Regions from separate parts of the Homo sapiens genome. Here all the other regions are linked to region 1. The links are contacts of gene promoters, found by promoter capture Hi-C in blood cells and fetal thymus (Javierre and others, 2016). All regions are on one chromosome and are shown on one strand. Each heading gives the region's core, a stretch centred on a gene start or on the middle of the fragment in contact. The rest is flanking DNA. Distances are from core to core; before and after follow the strand shown.

Region 1 (5,356 bases), core at 282-2,781:
ACTAAAAATACAAAAATTAGCTCAGTGTGGTAGCGCATGCCTGTAATCCCAGCTACTCGGGAGGCTGAGGCACGAGAATCACTTGAGCCCGGGAGGCGGAGGTTGCAGTGAGTCGAGACTGCGCCACTGCACTCCAGCCTGGGCAACTAAGCAAGACTCCGTCTCAAAAAAACAAAAAAGAGAAACATACCTAGCTATAGTCTAGCTTTACCTGTCTAGAACTTTCTATGATGATGGATTATTTTCTATGATAATGCTATATATCTGTGCTGTCCAATACAGCACACGCAAGCCATCTGTAGCTACTGAGCACTTGAAATGCAGCTAATATGAATAACTGGATTTTTAGTTTTATTTAATTTTAATTAATTCAGATAGCCATATATGGCTAATGGCTACCATATTAGATAATGCAACGTTAGATTAAGACCCAGTTTTCAGGGCAACATAACCACGGATATTTACCTGCAGCTATAAAATAATAAACATAACATGCAAAAGCAAAAGTACAAAAGAGGTGAGCATCAAAACATTGACATGCTTAATAATTATTGTCCCTTTTCTTCCACCCATCCCCACTCTTTTTTAGGGTTACTGGATGTCATACCTTTGTAATGTTTGTTTGGTTTTTAATTACTGCCACCGTTTTCTAAACACTACGTGCTAACTTAATTTGAAAGCCATCGCTCTGTCCCCTGCCCAACACACACACACGGTCCTCTGAGAAACCAAATTATAGAATAAATATACAAGATGCGTGTCACTCCCTGTCTCAAATTCCGCCTCTTGGAAACCTGGACCGACAGCTGGCTCTTTCGAGATCGTAGCCCTCGTCGGACACCTTCCCCATGGGGTTCTATGGACAAAGGGCGCCAAGGGCGTGGAAGGCACGGTTTTGGATTTCGTGGAGTAGAGGAAGAGCCACCCTCAGTGAATGTGTGGGTGTGTTCAGGCAAGGAAAGGAACCAGGCAGCAGCCACGAGGGAAGAATCAGTGACCGCGTACGTATACACGAGAGGAAGGAACAGATACCCAGGCAGGCCCCGAGTTACCTGCACATCCCCAGGGAAATAGAGGACGTGATGCTGGGGCGGCGGCTGCGGCTCCTCCTTCGCTGGGTCCCCGGGGAGGTCCTGCCGCTCCAGTCCCTCCCCGGCCGCCGCCAACAGGAGCAATTCGTTGCTGCGCTGCGGATCGGCTCCAGGCACGGTGGAAAGCTGCAGGCACTGACGGCGGCGCACCTCGGCCGAGAGGGAGCATCGCGCGCCGCCGCTGCCGCCCGGGTTCATGGTTCTGGCCTGAGAGCAGGACGAGGCGTTTCCGATTCCGAGCTGCGGCAGCAGGAGCAGCAACGGCGGCGACCGCAGGAGCCTGAACCCCCACATGGGTCGCCGCCGCGAGAGCGGTTCGGAGGTGGAGGGTGGCGGAGGGGTTCCTGAGGGAGGGACTTCAGCAGGCGGCTCAGCCGGCGGCTCAACGGTCGGCGGCCGCGGCCCGGCCGGGAGCCGGCGCTGAGGCGACGACGTCAGAGGCCGACGTCCGCGCGCAGCGTGCGTAAGGAAAGGAAGGGAGGGGTGTGGGCGAAATCGGTCTTGGGATCCCGGAGAAGACGGTGGGCGTGGCTTGAGGAAGGGCGTTTGTGATTGGTGGGTTCTGCCGCGGCCGGGAAGTTCGAACAGAAGTCTGGGGAAGAGCCGGCGAAGAGCAAAGAGATAATACAGTACTCCCAGCTATAGCAAGCGGCAGTTATGGAGCATGCGCAGCAGCAGGGGCGGCCGCAGGTCGCCGTTCAATAATACGTAATGTATAGACTTTTGAGTATACGAAGCTCCCTGTTTCTCTAGGTTCACCTGAGATTTATCTGGTCTTTCAGGGCTTAAAAGGGAGACATTCCCAAAGAAGATTCCGTGGGAAGTCTCCTACAAGCCCCGAAGGAAGGGAATCTCTCTCCTCATACCTTGAGTTTCCTGAGTACAATTATTATAGATATACGAAGATCTCTGTGCTCATGGAGAATTTGTGGTTAGATATGAAGCTAATTCATCTCTGTTTGGGAACAGGGTACATGATCTAGGACAGGAAAAAAACGGGGCGAGGCAGTACGCTTTACTTGGTGTTTTGCTATTTGGAGGTTTTCAAAAACTAAACAGTGTAGGAAAGTCATGTGTGTCCAGCAACTATCTGTGGCCAGTTGAGTAGGAATAAGATTTGGCGAAATGTATGCTCAGGCCTGTACTCCCAGCACTGTGGGAGGCCGAGGCGGAGGATCACTTGAGTCCAGCAGTTTGAAACCAGCCTGGGCAACATAGGGAGGCCTTGTCTCTACTAAATTTTTTTTTTTAATTAGCCGGGCGTGGTGGTGCATGCCTATAGTCCAAGCTACTGGGAGGGCTGAGATGGGAGATTGGATCGCTTGAGCCCAGGAGTTGTATGCTGCAATGAGTTGTGATCCCACCACTGCACTCCAGCCTGGGCAACAGAAGCAGACCCTGTCTCAAAAAATAAACCAAAAACAAACAAAACAGGGAAATGTGTGCGAGCGAGGATGAGATCCAAGTACTTGTGAGACAAAGCACTGTAAAGAGAATAATTAATGAAAATTACAAAAAACTACAGCCAACATTTGTTGAGGGTTTACTATAGGCCAGAAATCTAAGCACTTTATATATAATTGTTCGGAGTTTATATATGTGTATTTAAGCACACATACTGTTTTCTTTGGTCTACATATGCAAATAATAACAAATGGCTTGGAGTAGGAACATAAATGAGCAAATGATAAAATATGATTTATATATATGTATAGACTTGGTGACTTAGTATGCTAACCTACTCTGGTCTAAATTGTTGCATTCCATCTGACATCAAAATATTGTTATCAATCAAAAATTATTCAATTAATTACTAAGGAAATCTGCCGCTTTCTAAAATAACTGGTTAAAAACAAGTAGAGGTTAGTTATACAATAATTAGTATATAATGACATTTAGGCAACCTGACGTCACTCTGTTTTGCCAATTGCAAACATGTTACTTTCCATTGTTAGATAGAGGATTGCTGAAATGTTATCTAAAAGTCCAAACATGTACATGAATTGCAAATGCAGCTTTTGATTTGTGGTCTTGTTTTTAGCTTGACCTTATAATGAAATCTATTTTTATTTTTAAGTTTATTTTTTTAAGACAAGATCTTGCTTTGTCACCCAGGCTGGAGTGCAGTGGCACAATCTCGGCTCACTGCAATCTCTGCCCCCCAGATTCAAGCGATTCACTTGCCTCAGCCTCCCTAGTAGCTGAGATCACAGGCATGTGCCACCACGCCCGGCTAATTTTTGTATTTTTTTAATAGAGACAGGGTTTCTCCATGTTGACCATGCTGGTTGCGAACTCCTTACTTCAGGTGATCTACCCGCCTCGGCCTCCCAAAGTGCTGGGATTACAGGCAGGAGCCACCATGCCCTGCCTTAATGAAATCTATTCTTATTGAAGAGAGTGGAGAATGTGTTTTATAAGGAAAATTGTAGCAAATATTAAATGCCACAAAGTTGTCTCAGTATCGCTAAGATAATTAAGGTCTTTGAGAAATACAAGTAAGAATTTAAAGAGTAGAGTAAAGAAACAGACTAAAGTAAGCACAAATGTTTCCTTACAGTCAAGGGATTTGTACAGCCCTGTAGGAGACACCTCCAGAGAAAGTAACAGCTCTCAATTGATTAGCTGAGGTATGTATGTCATTTATGGCAAGTCATTGCCGTTGCAATTCCTTCTCACAGGTCCCCTTGATATTACTGTAATACCTGTTTTCTGTCTCCATCCCCTCTGTCTTCTAGGAGACCGATTTTGTAAATCACTACTTTTCTAACAACACTGGCACAGATGGCCAAGCATTCTCCCTTTTCTCAGAGCTGGTTTTCCATCCCGGAAAGAGGTCTTACATATACAAAGTTACTCTAATCAGTTGTGTGAGTTTTCTCTTCTCTAACTGATAGGGTTCTGCACAGGGATTATATTAATGCTTATAGTGTCCAAAAGGCTATAGCTCACCTCTGGACTCTTGAGAGTTCTCAAGGGATCCTGCTGAGCTCTCAGACCTTTTTAATGCTATTCAATATAATAGAAAAGTTGCAAAATTGGAAGGAATCTGAGAAAGGCTAATTTACAATGGAAAGGACAGCATTAAAAGGCACAAACTCCAATATCTACAGGGGCCAGGTCTATATTATAAATAGTAAAATTGGCCACAAATAAACAATAGGGAATGTAAACACTGGCAAACTAGAGAGATGTCATATTTGAAGAAGGCAGTCACTATTCACTGCTAGCCAGTTGTAAAATGAAGGCAACATTTTGCCAAACCTTCAAACTTGTTAAGAGATTTCTCGACACAAATCAGATACAGATTTTTATGTTTCATTTGCCAACTTGTAAATGTTGACAACTAATTAAATTTGCTTGTAAAACACCGTATTAAATTAAATGCACACATAGGCCATATTTGGCCTAGGGGCCACAAATGTGCAGCTTCTCTACTGAAAGGTGAAATGGGTGGATACAGGAAGGCAGGAGATGGGGGAAAAAAATAGACAAGACAAAAAAGTCCGGGCACAGTGGCTCACACCTGTAATCTCAGCACTTTGGGAGGCCGAGGCAGGCGGATCACTTGAGGTCAGGAGTTCGAGACCAGCCTGGCCAACATGGTGAAACCCTGTCTCTACTAAAAATACAAAAATTAGCCAAACATGGTGGTGGGCACCTGTAATCCCAGCTACTCGGGAGGCTGAGGCAGGAGAATCACTTGAACCCGGGAGGCGGAGGTTGCAGTGAGCCAAAATTGAGCCACTGAACTCTATCCTGGGCAACACCGTAAGAGTCTGTCTTTAAAAAAAAAAAAAAAAAAGCGGGGGGGTGGGGGTGGGCGAGCAGCAAAAGCCCTTAAATGTGGCTTTCTGTGAGCAGTTGAGAGGGAGAGGAGTGGGGAAATGATTTTGAGAAGTTCTGTGAGATTTTAATTGGATCCCATTTGATGTTCTTTAAGAGATTGAAAAGTTTTAGTTTTAAAAAATTATTCTTGGTTTTGAATAGGTATTTTTTTGTGTTTTAATAAGCTTGTTTGCCAAAACTGGGCCTTGAGAGGAACAGGCTTCATATGAGGTATGCCACTCTAGCATGTAATTTGGCCCCCAAAGTGCTTGATAAAATAAAAATTAGAGAATAGAGCCATTTGGGGATTTGAAAGCTTATTCTTTGGCTAGTTTCACCAGCTAAGCAACACCATGTACCCTGTTCCTGTGGTATATAATTTATTAGACACCTACTTCCTCAAAATGCAAATCACTACATGTCAAGACCTTACAGAT
Region 2 (5,157 bases), core at 6-2,505, 570 kb before region 1:
GATATGTAATACAGTGTTTAAGCGGCCTGACATTGGCACTAAAATATTGAAATTACTGTTTCAAAAATGCAAACTAATAAATGCTTACATGCCCAGGGTCTATAAGAAAGGCAAAAACCAGCCAGGCGAGGTGGCTCATGCCTGTAATTCTAACACTTTGGGAGGCCAAAGCAGGAAGATCACTTGAGCTCCGGAGTTCGAGACCAGTCTGGGCACCATAGTGAGACCTCGTTTCTACTAAAAATTTAAAAAGTAGCTGGGACGTTGTGGTGCACACCTGTAGTCCTCGCAACTTGGGAGGCTGAGGATGGCTTGAGCCCAGGAGTTCAAGGCTATAGTGAGCCATGATCATGCACTCCAGCCTAGGTGATAGAGCAAGACCCTGTCTCAAAAACATGCACTCCAGCCTAGGTGATAGAGCAAGACCCTGTCTCAAAAAAAAAAAAAAAAAGGAAAAAATATTGGAAAAAATGTGATCAGGTCTGAGCACTTTTTAGCATTCTTTTGTTTCTTTTCAGTGACATGGGAGTGTTTGCTCTGTGCTCAGGAATGTGTTTGGGCTTTCTTAACCCTAAGGGAGTGAGTCGAGGTCAAGAGTGGTTGGGTTCAACTCTGACAAAGGCAGGTGAACTCCTGACCTGGCAAATTCATTTTTTTCCCTGTTCCAAGAATTACTTGACTCATCTTTAAAGCGGTCACATTTACACTGACATTTTTCAGTGGTGAGCAAAATCTTGCTACATAAAAAACTGTGCAAAATCCTTCCGTCTTGTAATATATGAATTCAGGGCCTCAGATGGGGTAAACAGGGCCTACAGTGCCGAACATTTATCTTTCTTATTTGAACGAACAACTCTTCCTTCCTTCCTGGAATGTGACTTAACGTTAAGAATTTCTATTAAATCTCTGGGTACACCCAGAGACCTCAGAAAGCTCTCTACAGAGAGAGCAAACATCCTCCTGTACTTGGCAAAAGAAGAAACAGATGCTTGCGTGGCTTGCAGGCTCAGCTGCTCAGGGCCGCTCTGTGGAAGAGAACCAGTGAACCTGGGTTGCCAGAAAAAATGTTAATGTTGAGTTGAGAATAAGCATTTGCACTTGTGAGTAGTCAACAGATATGTAGGACATGTGAGTGCAACGGAAGCGGCACCCAAACTGGACTGCCCTGTAGTCAAAGTTAGGGGAACTGGGGCTATTTTGGGTTTGGGCCATTGGGTATCCATTTTCCCTTTCTGAGAAGTACCCCTTCTCCATCTAGCTCAGGAACTCTGGGAAGATGGCCACACCCAGGCTCCAGGGGTGGGCTCTAATTAGTCTATGCAAATTAGTTCATCCCATTCACTTCTCTCCCCCCTTTCATGATTGGTTTAAGAGACAGGCCTACCAGCAATGGTATGCAAGACCTTTGCTGGGATTTCTGAGAAAGACACTTGCTCTGTGTAGAAGCTACTAGGATAACTTCTCTCCTCTGGACAGTGTGGAAAATAGACTTGAGTCTTAAGAGCATGGTGGCCCTTTGCCACAATTCTGAATGCAATGTCAACCCAAGGAGGAAAGGAGAGCTAAGATAATTAAGAGATGGGAGCTGGCCGGGTACGGTGGCTCATGCCTGTAATTCCGGCAGTTTCGGAGGCCAAAGCAGGTGGATCACCTGAGGTCAGGGGTTTGAGACCAGCCTGGACAACATGGTGAAATCCTGTCTGTACTAATAATATAAAAATTAGCAGGGCGTGGTGGCACATGCCTGTAATCCCAGCTACTCGGAAGGCCGGGCAGGAGAATGGCTTGAACCCAGGAGGCGGAGGTTGCAGTGAGCCGAGATCATGCCATTGCACTCCACCTGGGTGACAAAGCAAGACTGTCTCAAAAAAAGAAAAAGAAAAAAGAAAAAAAAAAAAGAGATGGGAGCTGAAATCCTGATCAAATTGGACCAACTGGACTTTTCACTCACTGAACCAATAAATTCTTATTGTTGAAGCTAGGCTCAGCTGAGGTTTGTAGTACTTGCAACCAATGTTTCCAACTGCCCAACTGCCACATGGTGTGTCTAAGATGATCAGGGTGCATATCCATCTATTTGTGTAATCTAATTGAAAGGGCATATATATATTTTCCTGAAAGAGTACTTGTCTCAACAGAAACAGTATTTATTGTACACAGCTTTGCACCACAACCTCTAGTCTCTAAAGTTTTTTTTGAAAGCACTAAACAGTACATTCAATAACTAGGTGGGTATCAATAAAAGAAACTAGCCAGGTGTCAAATGCAGCATATTTTAATTTGTTTCAAATAAAGCAATATATGTATATATATTTTTTCAGAAAAACACCAGATGTTAAATTCTACAAAAGCGCATGTGTCCTCAGCAGATCATGTTTGTCTGATTATTAAGAATTCTTTTTTGTAACATTAACTCTCTAAAGACAATCAATGGACTGACATCACTGCTACAACACAGGTTGCTAACTGAGCCTCTGATCTTCAGCCACATCTTGATTTTCCTAATAATGAGTAAATACTGCCTGGCTAAAATGCTGCAAAGTCTTGATGAGAGAAAGCATCAACAGATCAAGCAAAGCCATGAAAATTATGAAGCAAGCTAGAGCTGATTATTAGAATTAGTAAAAATGATTAAGAGAGGATGACACAACCATACGGGATTTGTATATTCTGATTGACACTCTTTTGGCAGCGAATTGGGTCAGCACCTCGGGCAGGGAACCAAAACTGAGTGAAAACTGCTCTTTTTCCTCCTAGCTCAGGCCACCAACGTCACAGCCGGGACTGAGAGAACTGCTGCATCTGTGGAAACTTCTATTCTCGTGGGGCAGAGATTGCACTGTGAAACCCTACCGACACTACCCCGGAAGGGCCTGGCCTCCGAGGTGTCTGCAGCGTGCTGCCTTCGCCGGGGCTTTTCAGAATGGGCCGGGGCCTCGGGGGTCTTCATCCCCAAGGAAGCCTCTTGATTTTTGGCACCGCCTTTGTTTTTGGGCCGGAAGCCGTTGTGCGGCTGTCTTCTGTGTTCGTGGCGGCTGTTGCCCTTTCCCAGTGGCTCGGCTTCATTCCCACTGCCCTGCGACTTGGCAGGCCCATTTAGCCTGTTGTTATGATACTGTGGATTAAATCTCCGTCTTTGGTTAGAAGATCCATTCTACCAAAAAAGAAAAGAGATAAGTATCAGATGCCAGCAAGCCACTGATGACACCAGTAGACATCAGGAAAACCAAATCTCTAAGCCACAGGTAAGCTTTTTTTTTTTTTTTTTTTTTTTATACACCAGAAGAATCAGAAAACATGAAGATGAGGTCAGGCAGATAAAATTATTAATCCTAAAAGAATAGTGGACTGTTTTGTAAATGGAACTGGAAGAAAATGATATTGAAAGAGAGGTTACAGAAGTGTAAGACAGACAATTCAAAAACTGGGTCAAATAAAATTCATAAAGATGCTTAAACTATAGCAGAATAAAACAGAAGCCAGGGGCAGAGTAATGATGATCCTCTACTATGGAGATTTCTGAGACATTCTGTAGAGACTGAGAGGGACAGGAGGCACAGAAATTGTACACAGAAAAAGGGCAGGGTCCCTGGCCAAGACCCACTCTCAAGCCCAAAGTGAGAACTTTACATTCCTGTTTTCCTGCTCAAATATTGCCTTTTCCAAAACCACCCCTGGCCTACCCCACCCCGTATCCTGTACCCATAAAAATCCCAGGCTCCACTGGCACAGAGCAGAGAAGAGGAGAAGCAGCTGCACGTCGGAGACTGCAGTCTGAGTCGGAGAGCAGCAGCTTGACTTTAGCGGGACTGCTTGATGGCAGTACTTCAGGGGAAGAATACGTTCCCACTCCATCCCCATTTTCCAGCTCTCTCCCTCCTGCTGAGAGCCACTTTCAATGGCAATAAAATCCCCCGCGTTTACTATCCTTCAATTTGTTCATATGACCTGATTTTTCATGGATGCTGGACAAGAGCTCAGGATACAGAAAAGTGTCACATTGACCCTCTGCCTTCATGAAAAAGTAGAAGGTCTATTGAGCTGTTAAATACTTAAGCCGTCCTTGGACTGCAAAGCTAAAAGAGCATTGTAACGCATGCCCTCTGGGGCTCCAGGGGTCATGGGTACTACCCTAGGCACTGCTGTGGGACTGCATGGAGTTTTGATCCTGCCGGTGGCCAAAAGTGCTTGCTCTAGCTCCTGCACCTGCTCACCTGCATGCTCTCCCTCCCCCGAGGGGTTCAGAGCTTCAGGCTGAGAAAGTGAGGCACCCCTGTTGCAAGGCCTGTGAAGGGGTCAAGGAAAATTTCCTGTTCAAAACCATGCATAGGAATTCTAATTACGTAAGTGAAGAAAAAGTAAAATTCTGTAACTTTTCTTCTCTAAAGTAGCTTTTCTAATTTATTCCAAAACAAATATCTTTATAGTTCAGAAATATTATCTTGGACAAATATAGGGGTGAAGTGTATCTGGCAGGTCTTGGTGGCATGCAGAAATAAGGTGTATTTTCACAGAGGTAATTCATTGTTTTTCTAAACTTTCTGCAGTTATAAGCAAAGAAAATTTGAAGCCTCTATTAAAAAATCATTCCTTCAACACATCACTGACCAGGAACGTAAATGGATGAGCAGTAAGGACGCAATGGATTAAGCTCCTTTACAAGGGAAAGATTTCTGAACTCCTCAAGGTCAGTAATAGCCAACACTCATTGAGTGCTTACCATGCACTGAATGGGGTTTCTCACCATGCACTACCTCATTTAACATCAGAATCACCCTTTAAGTTAGTTGCTATTATGTGCTTCGTTTTATAGATGAGGATAAGGAGTTTCAGGGACTTGCCCAAGGTCTATCTACAGTTGGGAAATGGTGGAGCTATTCCCGCTTTATATACTATCTCCTGACAAGACTCTTAAGTTGTAACATAAACATAAACCTTTTTTGAAAATCAAACCTCTTAAGAAAACATGAAATTTTATGAGTTACAAATATATAAGGTTCTTCATTTGTGCACTGTGACTGGATGGTATAGGTTTAGGGCAGACCAACCCCCAATAATTCAGAGCCTAGAGCAAGAGTACAAATGTAGGTCCATACATCTGTTAAAGGAAAATAAATCTTGGGGCCCCCAAATCACTAAGCTGAAGGGAAAAGTCAA
Region 3 (5,542 bases), core at 1,370-3,869, 580 kb before region 1:
ATCATATAAGCTTGCCTTTTGAGATTATTAAATATGTCATCAGTTTCTGAATTCTTTACAGATAGGGATGCTTCTATGTAAGATGTGTAAGTGCCTGGCATAATGCTGGTGAAACGTGAATATTTTCTAAGTTCATTGGAGTTCGCTGATTTTTTTTAAAAACTTGATATTAAAGATGTGTTGATTTGTCTACATGGTGCATATTGTGGAATTAATAAAATACTATGATAAAAAGAGATCAAAATATAGGTTAGTATATTATATAATGTGTACATATGTATCTGTGTAAGCATATGTATACTTAAGGATCACAGAACAACTACTCAGTGCTTACATGTTTTTTCCCTTAATTAACAAGCTCTTATTAAATGTATATTAGCTGTATGTATATATGCACATCCATACCTAGGTAGTATATTTTCATTACTCTTTGCAATATTTCTAGAGAGGCGGGAAATAATGTTCAGTACATTTGGAGCTATTATTCAGTAGCAGAGTTGAAGAAAATGATGGATGCCTTTGATGCTTGGGAAGGAAAAGGTACAGTGCAATTCTTTTATTTCATGGAAGCAGGTGGACTTTAAAAAAAAAAGACAAAGTAAGCTCAAATACTGCATTTCTTTTTTTAGAAAGTATTCTTTTGAGTCTTACAATGTATTTGTCATCTCATGATAACACTGAGGCAGTTTACTTACAAATCTTTAAATCCCATGAGTTGCTAGATATTATTAATAGTTTATAATTCAGTAACTAGGTATGTTTCTGTTAGCTAGGCTTATTTAATTTAATTAAATAAGAGTTCATTTAGTACCTACTGTGCATTGGAAAAATACTTCAAATTAAGCATAAAATATGTAATCAAGGAAAGGGAGAGAAAATAATGTTGGAGAAGATGTCTAAAGAGCCCTTATAAAATAATTACAATAATCTTTAAATGTACACTTTGAAAACTGGTCATTTTTCTCAAACTACAGAGTGAGAGTTGGTAATAATAATGCTGTTTTATATCCCCGATAAGTAGTTTACATTCAGTATCTCTTAGTCCTAACACAATCCTGTACGCTACTTACCATTCCTATTTTATAGATGAGGAAACTGAGTCTCAGAAGGGCTTTGACACTTTCATAAGGATCACAGGTTACGTGTTCTGTTCTATGCCTAAGCATTTTTTTTCTTAATTAACAACCATGTATTGAGTGTCTGTTAGGTGCAAAGTATGATAACAAGTCCTAAAATTGGATCCAAAGATAAATAAGACTTATTCCATCCTCAAATAATCCTGAAAGCTAGTAAAGACTGACTGCCAGTCACACAATGGATAAAAGATCTGGGCCTGGTGTCATGCACCTATTGTCTCAGTTACTTGGGAGGCTGAGGCAGGAGGATTGCCTGAGCCCAGGAGTTTGAGGGTGGAGTGAGCTGTTATCACACCACTGCACTCCAGCCTGGGTGACAGAGCAAGACATAAAAGGAGAGGAAGAGGCTTTTAAAAACTGCATTGGCTGGGTGCAGTGGCTCATGCCTGTAATCCCAGCACCTTGAAGGCCGAGGCAGGTGGATCACCTGAGGTCAGGAGTTTGAGACCAGCATGACCAACATGGCGAAACCCCATCTCTACTAAATACAAAAAATTAGCCGGGCATGGTGGCGCATGCCTGTGATCCCAGCTACTTGAGAGGCTGAGGTGGGAAAATGGCTTGAACCCGGGAGGCAGAGGTTGCTGTAAGCTGAGATTGTACCATTGCACTCCAGCCTGGGCAACAAGAATGAAACTCCGTCTCAAAACAAAACAAAACAAAACACTGTATCAGCTGTTCTTCCTTCAGGTGTCGTGCCAGCTCCAGTCCTTCTTCCTTTCCTCAACTTTGCCCCCCTCACTTTCCTTCCTTTTTCCTTTCCAGTCATACCCCTCAAGAGGCAGGATGACATCTTTCAGCTTTCTATTTTATATTTAATTTACTTTGAGACACTTATGCTCAAGTTGGAGAACAAACTCCATGGTGTTCTCTGTGTCTCTCTTTGTGCCTCTGGACTGGCAAGATGTCCAGGAGCCCACTGCCTTAGAAAGCTGAAGGAGGGCTGGGCACGGTGACTCACACTTGTAATCCCAGCACTTTGGGAGGCCGAGGCAGGTGGATCATGAGGTCATGAGATTGAGACCATCCTGGCCAGCATGGTGAAACCCTGTCTTTACTAAAAATACAAAAATTAGCTGGGTGTGGTGGCACACGCCTGTAGTCCCAGCTACTCAGGAGGCTGAGGTAGGAGAATCGCTTGAACCCAGGAGGCAGAAGTTGCAGTGAGCCGAATTTTTGCAATCAGATCTTGGCGATGACCTTGAGCAGTAGGATATAAATAACTCCCACATGCTTAGTGTTCCAATAATGGAACACTAGGCATAAATGTTAAACACAAAACAAAACAAAAAAACAAGAAACATTAAAAATTATAAATAAAATTTAAAGACTAATAAAAAACTAGGATAAATAATGTTGCATTAACTGGACAAAGTATATCCTTAATAGAAAGAAAGTTTATTAAAATTGATTAGAAAGGCAACCACTACTACAAAAAAAAAAATTACAAGGTTCATGACCATAAAATTCCCAGAAAAAGAAGTAAACACGTGGCAGGCGGTTCAGCTTCATTCCTTATCAATGAAATATACATTTAATAAAAACAATTTTTTATATACCAGATGAGTAAAGATCTCTTATTCATTCCTGGTAGGAGTAAAAATTGATGTAACTTTTGGAAAATAACTTGTTAGGTCACATCAGTGCATCACAATTGTTCATATTCTTTGACCCAGTAATTTTACTTCTTGGAATCTATCTTATCTATCTTAAGGACATAAACACAGACAAAGGCTTAGGAACAGAAATGTTCTCTGGCATTTTTCATAATAGAGACAAAATAAAAACACTTTAAATGTCTAATGATTGAGGGTTAAATATATTTTGGCACATCCACAGAATGGAATATAATAAAGCGATTAAAGTTATTTTAAATAACTTTTTGCATAGATGAATGCCCATGATAAGAAATGATGAAAAGCAGGAAATAAATGTAAAGTATATCATATGACTAGAAAAAAGACTGGAATGAAACATATTAGTCTGTCCTGAGCCAATGATTCCTGGTCTTCTGATTAGGAGTGACTTTGATTCCCTTATATATACTTTTCTATATTTTCCAGGTATTGTACAAGGGATGTGAATTACTTTATAGGCAGGAAAAAAAAAGAAAGTTTTTAAACAAATTGTGGTGTATCCATACAGTGGAATACTACTCACTGATAAAAGAAATGATCATTGCTACATACAGCAACATGGATGAATCTTAAAGCATCATGCTAAAGAAGCCAGACACAAAAGGTTGCATTTTGTATGATCCCATTTATATGACATTTCAGAAAAGGCAAAACTAAGGATATGGAGGGGACATTGATTGCTAAGGGGTATGAGGAAATTTTTGGGGTGATAGAAGTGGTCTACAGATTATGACTATGGATACATAACTATATCCATTTGTCAAAACTCATTGAAATGTGTACCTGAAAAGGGTGAATTTTATTTTACATAAATTATATCTTAATAAATCTGACTTTTAGAAAAAGCAAACTTAATGGACCGGATTTGGGAATGTTTTTATAGTATGTGTAGGTTTTGGAGTGTGATCAAGCAGTTCCAGAAAGTTAATTGTTTTAAAATGAGGATCATAGAGTTATTTGAGTATCAGATATGTCTATCATTATAATGATTTATATGCCCAGCTTGCTAAATTGTTATTGTTACCAGAAGTTTAATAAGAAGACAACACCAAATCCATTATTGGGACTTAGATTACTCCAAGCAATTTTTATTCAACATAATTCCTTGAGCTTTTTTCATGTGTATATATTTATGCTTCTTTTCTAAAAAAAATTGAGATGGAAATTCACATAACAGAATTAACTAAAGCATACATTTCATTGGTATTTACTACATTCACAATGTTGTGCAATCATTACCTCTCTCCAGTTCTAAACATTTCATCACCCCAAAAGGAACCCCTAAGCGGTCACTCCCCACTCCACTGTCTCCCACAGCCCCTGGCAACCAGCAGTCTGCTTTGTGTCTCAATGGATTTACCTACTCTTGATAGCTCTACAAATGGAACAATACAAATGTGACCTATTGTGTTTGGTGTTTTTCACTTAGCATAATGTTTTCGAGGCTTCAAGAATAAATACATTTTTCAGCTCTTAATAAAAAACATAACAGATTTAAAAATTAAAATGAATTTGAATGGCATTTTTGCCTAACTCACTAGCTCAGATTCTTGTTGGAAAAGGTGGTTATCGGGTGGTGATGTCTCATATTTGTACAGTGGTTGCCATTTTCAGAGTAGTTCACAAAGTTCCCCTGATTTGATGTTACAGCAACCCAGTGAAGTAGACAAGGCAAGTGTTACAACCCACCCCCTATACAATACTTATACTGCTCCCTACGACTACTGGGAATAAAGGTACTTGACAGTTTTTGAGTGCTTAGTCTGTGCTAGACCCTGTTCTAAGCACTTTGCATTTATTAACTCATTTAATCATCACAGTGGTCCTTCAAGGTACATACTATTATTGTCATCATTTCACAGCTGAGAAAATTCAGGCCCAGAAAAGTAACTTTCCCAAGGTGACATGAATAGTGAGTGAGAGATGGAGATTGAGACCCACACAGGCTTTGCTGGAGCCTGAGCCCTCACTCTCAGCTGCCCTGAGTATGCATCATAACCTGCTGAATCTTCTCAGCTAATCAGTGGCAAAGCTGGTGGCCAGCTCTTCCTGACCCAGGTCGTGAGCTGTGTTGCTCCCTGGCCCTAGCTCCTCGTGTGAGCGCTTCCTGTTCATGTTGTGCACACCTCTCTTTGCCAAACGGGAGGCATGAACCTCAGACTCTGGCAGGTCTTAGGCGAAACAGTGTTGCTCAGCATTTTGCAGTGGATGGTAGCTGTCTTAATTATGTCTTTTTACCTTCCAGGTGTTAGCTACTGGCGGGTGCCTCATGAGCTGATAGAGTGTTGGACTCTAGAAGAACGGCCTTTACTTGGAAGCCTGCGTCACATGGCTCCAATTCGAAAGAGGTTATCTATGCTGTGTTGTTTATTTGTTTTGTTTTTTTAATCGCTGACATTTTTACTGCCTTTGTGAAGGGAAAATGAATAATAATTCTTGACCTTACTAAGCTTATTAATCACCGATTTGAATATTCTGTCTTACCATCAAAATATAGATCTTGATAAATATAAAGTTACCAAAACTATGTAAAAAGTGGCTATAATTCTTTGTAACTGCATGTGTAACATGTTCTTATTGAGAGAGTGATTCTAAAATTACTAGTGGACACAGTGGGCATGCTGTGGTAAATATTTTTGCTCCACAGAAGTGGAATCCCAGGCTTTACTGGCAATAGTAAAAAAAAAATCTATTTAGACTTAATACTTGAAATTTCTTGTGGCTTATTCTGAGTTCCTTTCTGTTTCCTATTGCCACAAATAGCACTTT
Region 4 (5,937 bases), core at 903-3,402, 520 kb before region 1:
ATATCAATTGAGAAATGTGAGTAGAGATTTTTTTTAGGTCCTCAAAAGCTGTCTCATTACTAGTGAAATCACTGAACATTAAAATCTTCAAGACCACTTGTACATATTTGCATATATGCATGTATGTCTGACATGCATGTATGTCTTGTTCATCATTACTGCATGTGTTTGATATCTTGCAGATACATAATAAATAATGAATGTATCAGTGTTACTTTAGTATAGATCTGTCTTCAAATATAGTAAAACTCTGGGACTCTTGCAGATGAAAACTGGTGGAGCGTTATAGAGCTATAACAGAAAGTCACTGTATCCAGTGACTTTCCTCTAACATTATAGTCCAGAAATACCATCAGCTCTCCATTTATCGGGAGTCCACTTGTAAACTTCAACAGGTTGTAGCTCAATGGGGGCTGATTCACACATAAGCCTCCAGTGTCCAGTAAGGTAGCCACTGGCCACATGTGGCTGTTGAACACTGGAAATGTGGCTTGTCCAAATTGAGATGTGCTATAAGTGTAATGTATATGCTGAAATGTGAAGGTTTAGTACAAAATAAAAAATTTAAAATATTACTTTAATAATTTAAAAAAGATTGACTACATGTTGAAATGATATTTTTGATACATTAAGTTAAATAAAATATATTACCCAATTTAATTCACCTGTTTACACTTTTTAAATGTGGCTACCAGAAAATATAAAATTATATACATACTATGTGTTAAATTTCTGTTGGATAACACTAATAGGATACACAAGGAGTGTGAGAGTTTTGATCTTCAGTGTGTAATCACTACTAATTTATATTCTAGAAAAGGGTATTTGTTTTAGTGAAGCCTTAAAATATCCTCTGCAATTTCTACATGAGAAAAGTGGTGACAGGGTGATGTATGTCTTGTTCATCATTACTGTATGTGCTTGGTATCTCGTAGATACATAATAAATACTGAATGAATGAATCAGTGTTACTTCAGTGCTATGCATGCCTACGGCCCTTCCAGTTGTAGGGAGCCTCGTTTGATATGAGTCTCTGGCTGTGTCTTTATCTAATATTCATCAAATATTAGATTCCACAGTAGCCGTATCTTGGAAAGAAAAGTTATCTCTGGAAACACACCATCTGCCTAGATTTCAATAAAAATTGTATACATTTTAATTTAATCCTTGTCCATGTATCTAAAAATGGCTCCTAGAAGTTTGTGTCTTTGAATTTAACTATTACGTGAGCATTCCTTTTATTGAAAACACTTACCAAATCCCAATTTTGTATATACACACAAATGGTATATAATGTCCTGAGTATCACGTTGGTTTCTGATTCAAGGATTCAACAGACACATATGGAGAGTGCACAGTGTATCAGCTCTGGTTTATTAATAGGCAATAAATGAGAAATAGACTGACCTTAATAACTAGTATGTAAAATGTGAAAAAATAATGGAAGAGGATACCAGAGTAAATCTGAATTGAACTTTCCCATTGAATTGTCTTGGTACCTCTGATAAACATTAACTGACTATATGCGTGACTATTTCTGGACTGTATTCTATTCCACCGATCTAGCTGCCAGTTCTCACACCACCATTACACTGTCCTAGTTACTGTAACTGCTTTACTCCTCTTTTTCAAGATTGTTTTGACTATCTTAGGTCCTTTGCATTTTAATATAAATTTAAGAATCAATTTGCCTATTTCAACAAAAAATATGATGAGATTTTCATTGGACTTGTGTTGAATCTATAAAGCAATTTGGGGATATGCGGTATCTTAACAATACTGAGTCTTTTGACCCTCGACATGACATACTATGCCATTTATTTCAATTCTAATTTGCTTTAGCATCATTTTATAGTTCTTAGAGTCTTGTGCATCTACAGTCAAATTTATTCCTAGGTGTTTTAGAATTTTTATGTTATTGTTTATAGCATTTTTAAAAATTTCAATTCCAAAATGTCAGGAATACAAATGCTTTTTAATATATTGAACTTATATCTAGCGACCTGGCTAATGTCCTTATTAGTTCTGGCAGCTTTATTTTTTTTTGTAGATTTCTTAAGATTTTCTTTCTACAAACACAATGATGACAGTGGTAATGAAGTCTAACTTCTTCTTTTCCAATCGTTCCTTGTCTTATTAATCCTAGCTACAAAGCAGAATGAGCATCCCTGCATTGTTCTGGGTCTTAGGGAAACTGCATTCAGTATTTTATCAAGTATTACACAGCTGTAGAGTTTCCATGTATTTATTAGACTCTAAAAATTCTCTTGTATTCCTTCTTTGCTGACAGTTTTTGTCAAGTGAATTTTTTATTTTACACACTGAGATGATCATATTATTGTTCTCCTTTATTTTATTAATAATATTATGTTGATTTTTTTAAATGTTAAACTGATGTTGAGTTCCTGAAATTATTAACCACACCCACTTGGTCATGCAGTATTATCCTTTTATATATTGTTTACTTCACTTGTTAATGTTTTGTTGAGGATTTTTGCTTCTTTATTCATTAACAATATTGTTCTGTAATTTTCTTTTCTTGTAATGACTTTGTCAGGTTTTGATACGAGTTATGCTGGCCTCATAAAATGAGTTAGGAAGTATTCCTTCTTTCTATTTTCTGAAACTGTTTAAGATTGCAATTACATTTATTCCTCAAATGTTCATGGGAATTCACTAAGGAAGTCATCTGGGCCTGGAAATTTTAATTATGAATTTCCTTGGTAAGCATAGTGTTATTCAGATTTTCTATTTCTTCTTGTCTGTTTTGGTAAGTTGTGTTTTTAAAGAATTTGTCCATTTCATTTAAGTTGTTGGATTTATTGGCATAAAGTTGTTTATAACATCCTGTTAGCTTTTAAATAAATGAAGTCAGGGTTAATTTTATCCCTGATATTGGAAATTGGTTTATTATATTTTCATTATGATTCAGTTCAAAATTTTTCTCATATCTCTTGTGAAATTTTCTTTTTGGCTAATGGATTGTTTAGAAGATTGATTAATTTTTAAATGTTCAGAGATTTTCTAGTTATCTTATTGCTATTGTTAATTCAATTCTACTGTGTTCAGACACCATACTCTTAAGATGGTGTTTTAAAATTTGAAACTAATTTTATGGTCCAGCAACTGGCCTATTTTAATGTAAATGCCATGTTCTCTTGAAATTGTTGGGTGTGTTGTCCTTTAAATATCAATTGGCTCAAGTTGGTTGATAGTATTGTTCAAATCGTCTATGTTCTTACTGATTTTTAATCTATATGTTCTATCAGTTACTAAGAACCTGATATTAAGATCTACACTGCTGTGGATTTGGATTTGTCGCTTTCTTTAGTTCTATATATTGCTGCTTCATGGATCTGGAATCATTAGATGCACATACATTTAGAGGTGTTATATCTTTTTGATCAATCAAACAACATATTACTATGAAATGACCCTTGGATATGAGGCTTGTTGTTTTTCATCAAATTTGGATAAACTGTGTCCATTATTTCTTCATAGCTTCCTCCTTCTCCCTGCCAAATTTCCTCTTTGCTCTCCTTCTGAGACTCTAATTACACCTATGTGAGACTGCCTGATACTGTTCCTTAAGTCACTGAGGCTCTGGCTTTGTTTTATTCTTTTACTTTTTTTCTCTCTGTTCTTCAGTTGGCATAGTTTCTTTTGACTTGTCTTTAAGTTCACTCATCCTTTCTTCTTCATCGTCTGAACTGTTGCTAAGCACACCTGATGACTTAAATTTTCTTTTTCTTCATCCATTATATATCCATCTTCTTTTTCCATAAAATTCTTAACATATTTTTAATTAGCAATCCTTGTCTGCTAATTCCAACTTCTGTGTTGTTAATGGGTCTGTTTTTAATGACTAATCTTTCTCTTCATTATAGGTCACATTTTCCTGCTCCTTCCCATGTCTAGTAATTTTTAAAATTGGACACTGACCATTTTGGATGATGCATTGAGAAACTCTAGATCTTCTTCTTTTCCTTTAAAGGGTTTTGACTTTTGTTCTAACGGGTGACTAATGTACTTGCAGATCACTGCCCACTCTCTTCCTCCCTTTTTGCCTTGAGGATAAATGTTAGGCAGCTAAAAGAACAAGTTGGGGGATGGAAGAGATGATAAGGGGATAGTGCACTGTTCCTTAAAATACCTTCATTTAATTCCTCTGCTTTATACTCCTCTTCTTGAGCTTGCCTTCCATCCCATGTGCTGACTCTGAACCCAGGGCTCCCCCAGTTTCTGCAGGGCAATCATCTTCCTCCCCACCAAAGCTCCTCCCTCTGTATTCTATGCTGCAGCATCTGATTCATCAATAAAGCCCCTTCCATCTACTTCCTTTCTTGTAGAAACTGATACCCTTTTCTCATTTTTTTCAGTATTGTGGATTTCTACATTTAAAAATTTCTTTACTATAATTTAAGGGAATTTGTTATGAAGTCAATACAAATTCATGCCTTTCTTTCTCTTGAAAAGTTCTTGATATGCTTTGCCAAATTATTTTTCAGTCAAGTTGTACCATTTACACTCAGCTGCAGTGCCTGCAATTGTTTTCATATTTAACTCTTGCCAACAGTGAAAACTATCAACTTACTGGTTACTAAATCTTAGTATCAACTTATATACTTTACTTGTGCTTAATTTATTTTATACAATAAATGAATTGTGCTGGTTGTTTTTGTTAGCAGTGCCAAAGAAAACAAACCCTCCTCTTGGGGGAAATATATAAACTTGGATTCAAAAGTTTTCATTATGTATGTACAGCCATGTGTGTATTCAAATTTGAAAGTTTCTGAAAAAGATTGTTTTCTCTTTAGTTTTTACTTTTTAGTGAAAGCTTGATATACTTATAAGTAGACTGAAGAAAGAATTCAAATCTAACTTTAAGAATTCAAATCTAACTGTAAGGAATGTATTAAACATAGAATAGTTCTAAAATAATTATTTTAACCCTTTGAGTTAAGATGGTTTCATTGTCTTCTATACACAGGTAATTGCAGCAAAGCACATCATCTGATCTTGAGTAAGTATTGTAAAGTAGTTGTATTTGGAAGAAACTGATAAAGAAACAAAGCATAACTTTGTTGTTGTAAAATTATGTCTAAAATTGCTAATGTCTATGTTACTTAAAGCAAGTTACCATTCTTTAAAAAGTACTTATGTGAATGTGATGGTGTTTTATGATACTTGATACCTGATAATACAATTGGTAGTTCTTTGGTAATTGATCTTTGTGTTCTTAAATATTTACAAAAGAAAAAATACAAATGGAAAAGAAACTTCTTAAAAAGTTCCATCCCTCTACCAATCAGTTTTAAAAGTAAAAACAATGAGATTAGTACAACCTTTCCGGACAGTAATATATTAATAACTTAAAAACTATTCATACCCTTTGAACCCAATAATTCTACTTCTAAGAATATATGCTAAGGAAATAATCATGGTTGTTCACACAAATCTATATACAAGAGATGTTCACTATAATATTCTTTATAAAACCAAACAATGGAGGCCGGGTGCGATGGTTCATGCCTGTAATCCCAGCACTTTGGGAAGCCAAGGTGGGCAGATCACCTGAGGTCAGGAGTTCCAGACCAGCCTGGCCAAAATGGCGAAACTCCATCTCTACTAAAAATACAAAAATTGGCTGGAAGTGGTGGCAGGCGCCTGTAATCCCAGCTACTTGGGAAGCTGAGGCACGAGAATCACTTGAACCTGTGAGGCAGAGGTTGTGGTGAGCCAAGATCATGTCACTGCACTCTAGCCTGGGTGACAGAGCAAGACTCTGTCTCAAAAAAAAAAAAAAAAAAAAGGAAACAATTCACACGGACAACAGTTTGGGAACAATTAAAAGAAATATGGCACATTCATAAACATGCAATGCAGATATTTAAATCACGTTTTTAAAGAACATTTAATGATATGAAGTAATGTTCA

The links. Contacts are between HindIII fragments. The CHiCAGO score rates a contact against its expected background, and 5 or more counts as called.
Region 2: a fragment that was not itself captured here is called in contact with the fragment with the promoter of C2orf69 in region 1 in 1 of 17 cell types (non-activated CD4 T cells); the score reaches 7.8 in non-activated CD4 T cells.
Region 3: a contact is called between a fragment that was not itself captured here and the fragment with the promoter of C2orf69 in region 1, in 2 of 17 cell types (activated CD4 T cells and non-activated CD4 T cells). The highest score is 5.8, in activated CD4 T cells.
Region 4: a contact is called between a fragment that was not itself captured here and the fragment with the promoter of C2orf69 in region 1, in 1 of 17 cell types (M2 macrophages). The highest score is 5.5, in M2 macrophages.

What each region holds. Positions count from the first base shown.
Region 1 is chr2:199,907,468-199,912,823 of GRCh38, reverse strand. C2orf69 (chromosome 2 open reading frame 69) reads right to left here and starts at 1,531. Exons shown (of 2, transcript NM_153689.6): 1 at 1,053-1,531. The coding sequence starts at 1,385. It overlaps LOC101927687 (a long non-coding RNA gene), which reads left to right and starts at 1,678. Exons shown (of 4, transcript XR_923766.4): 1 at 1,678-1,799; 2 at 3,652-3,721. RefSeq lists an enhancer at 1,210-1,399. The HindIII fragment of the contact is 7,031 bases long and covers 1-5,106 here.
Region 2 is chr2:200,475,633-200,480,789 of GRCh38, reverse strand. It overlaps SPATS2L (spermatogenesis associated serine rich 2 like), which reads right to left. Exons shown (of 13, transcript NM_001100423.2): 13 at 1-3,154. The coding sequence ends at 2,759. It overlaps LOC101927741 (a long non-coding RNA gene), which reads left to right and starts at 2,817. Exons shown (of 7, transcript XR_007088047.1): 1 at 2,817-3,245; 2 at 4,548-4,687. The HindIII fragment of the contact is 3,995 bases long and covers 1-3,252 here.
Region 3 is chr2:200,492,751-200,498,292 of GRCh38, reverse strand. KCTD18 (potassium channel tetramerization domain containing 18) reads left to right here. Exons shown (of 7, transcript NM_152387.4): 5 at 446-540; 6 at 5,019-5,121. Among named protein-coding and RNA genes, the nearest start is that of KCTD18, 15 kb to the left of the region's middle. The HindIII fragment of the contact is 5,213 bases long and covers 13-5,225 here.
Region 4 is chr2:200,430,591-200,436,527 of GRCh38, reverse strand. All of the region lies in intron 6 of SPATS2L (spermatogenesis associated serine rich 2 like), which reads right to left. LOC101927741 (a long non-coding RNA gene) reads left to right here. Exons shown (of 7, transcript XR_007088047.1): 4 at 4,991-5,023. Among named protein-coding and RNA genes, the nearest start is that of KCTD18, 77 kb to the left of the region's middle. The HindIII fragment of the contact is 5,374 bases long and covers 1-4,839 here.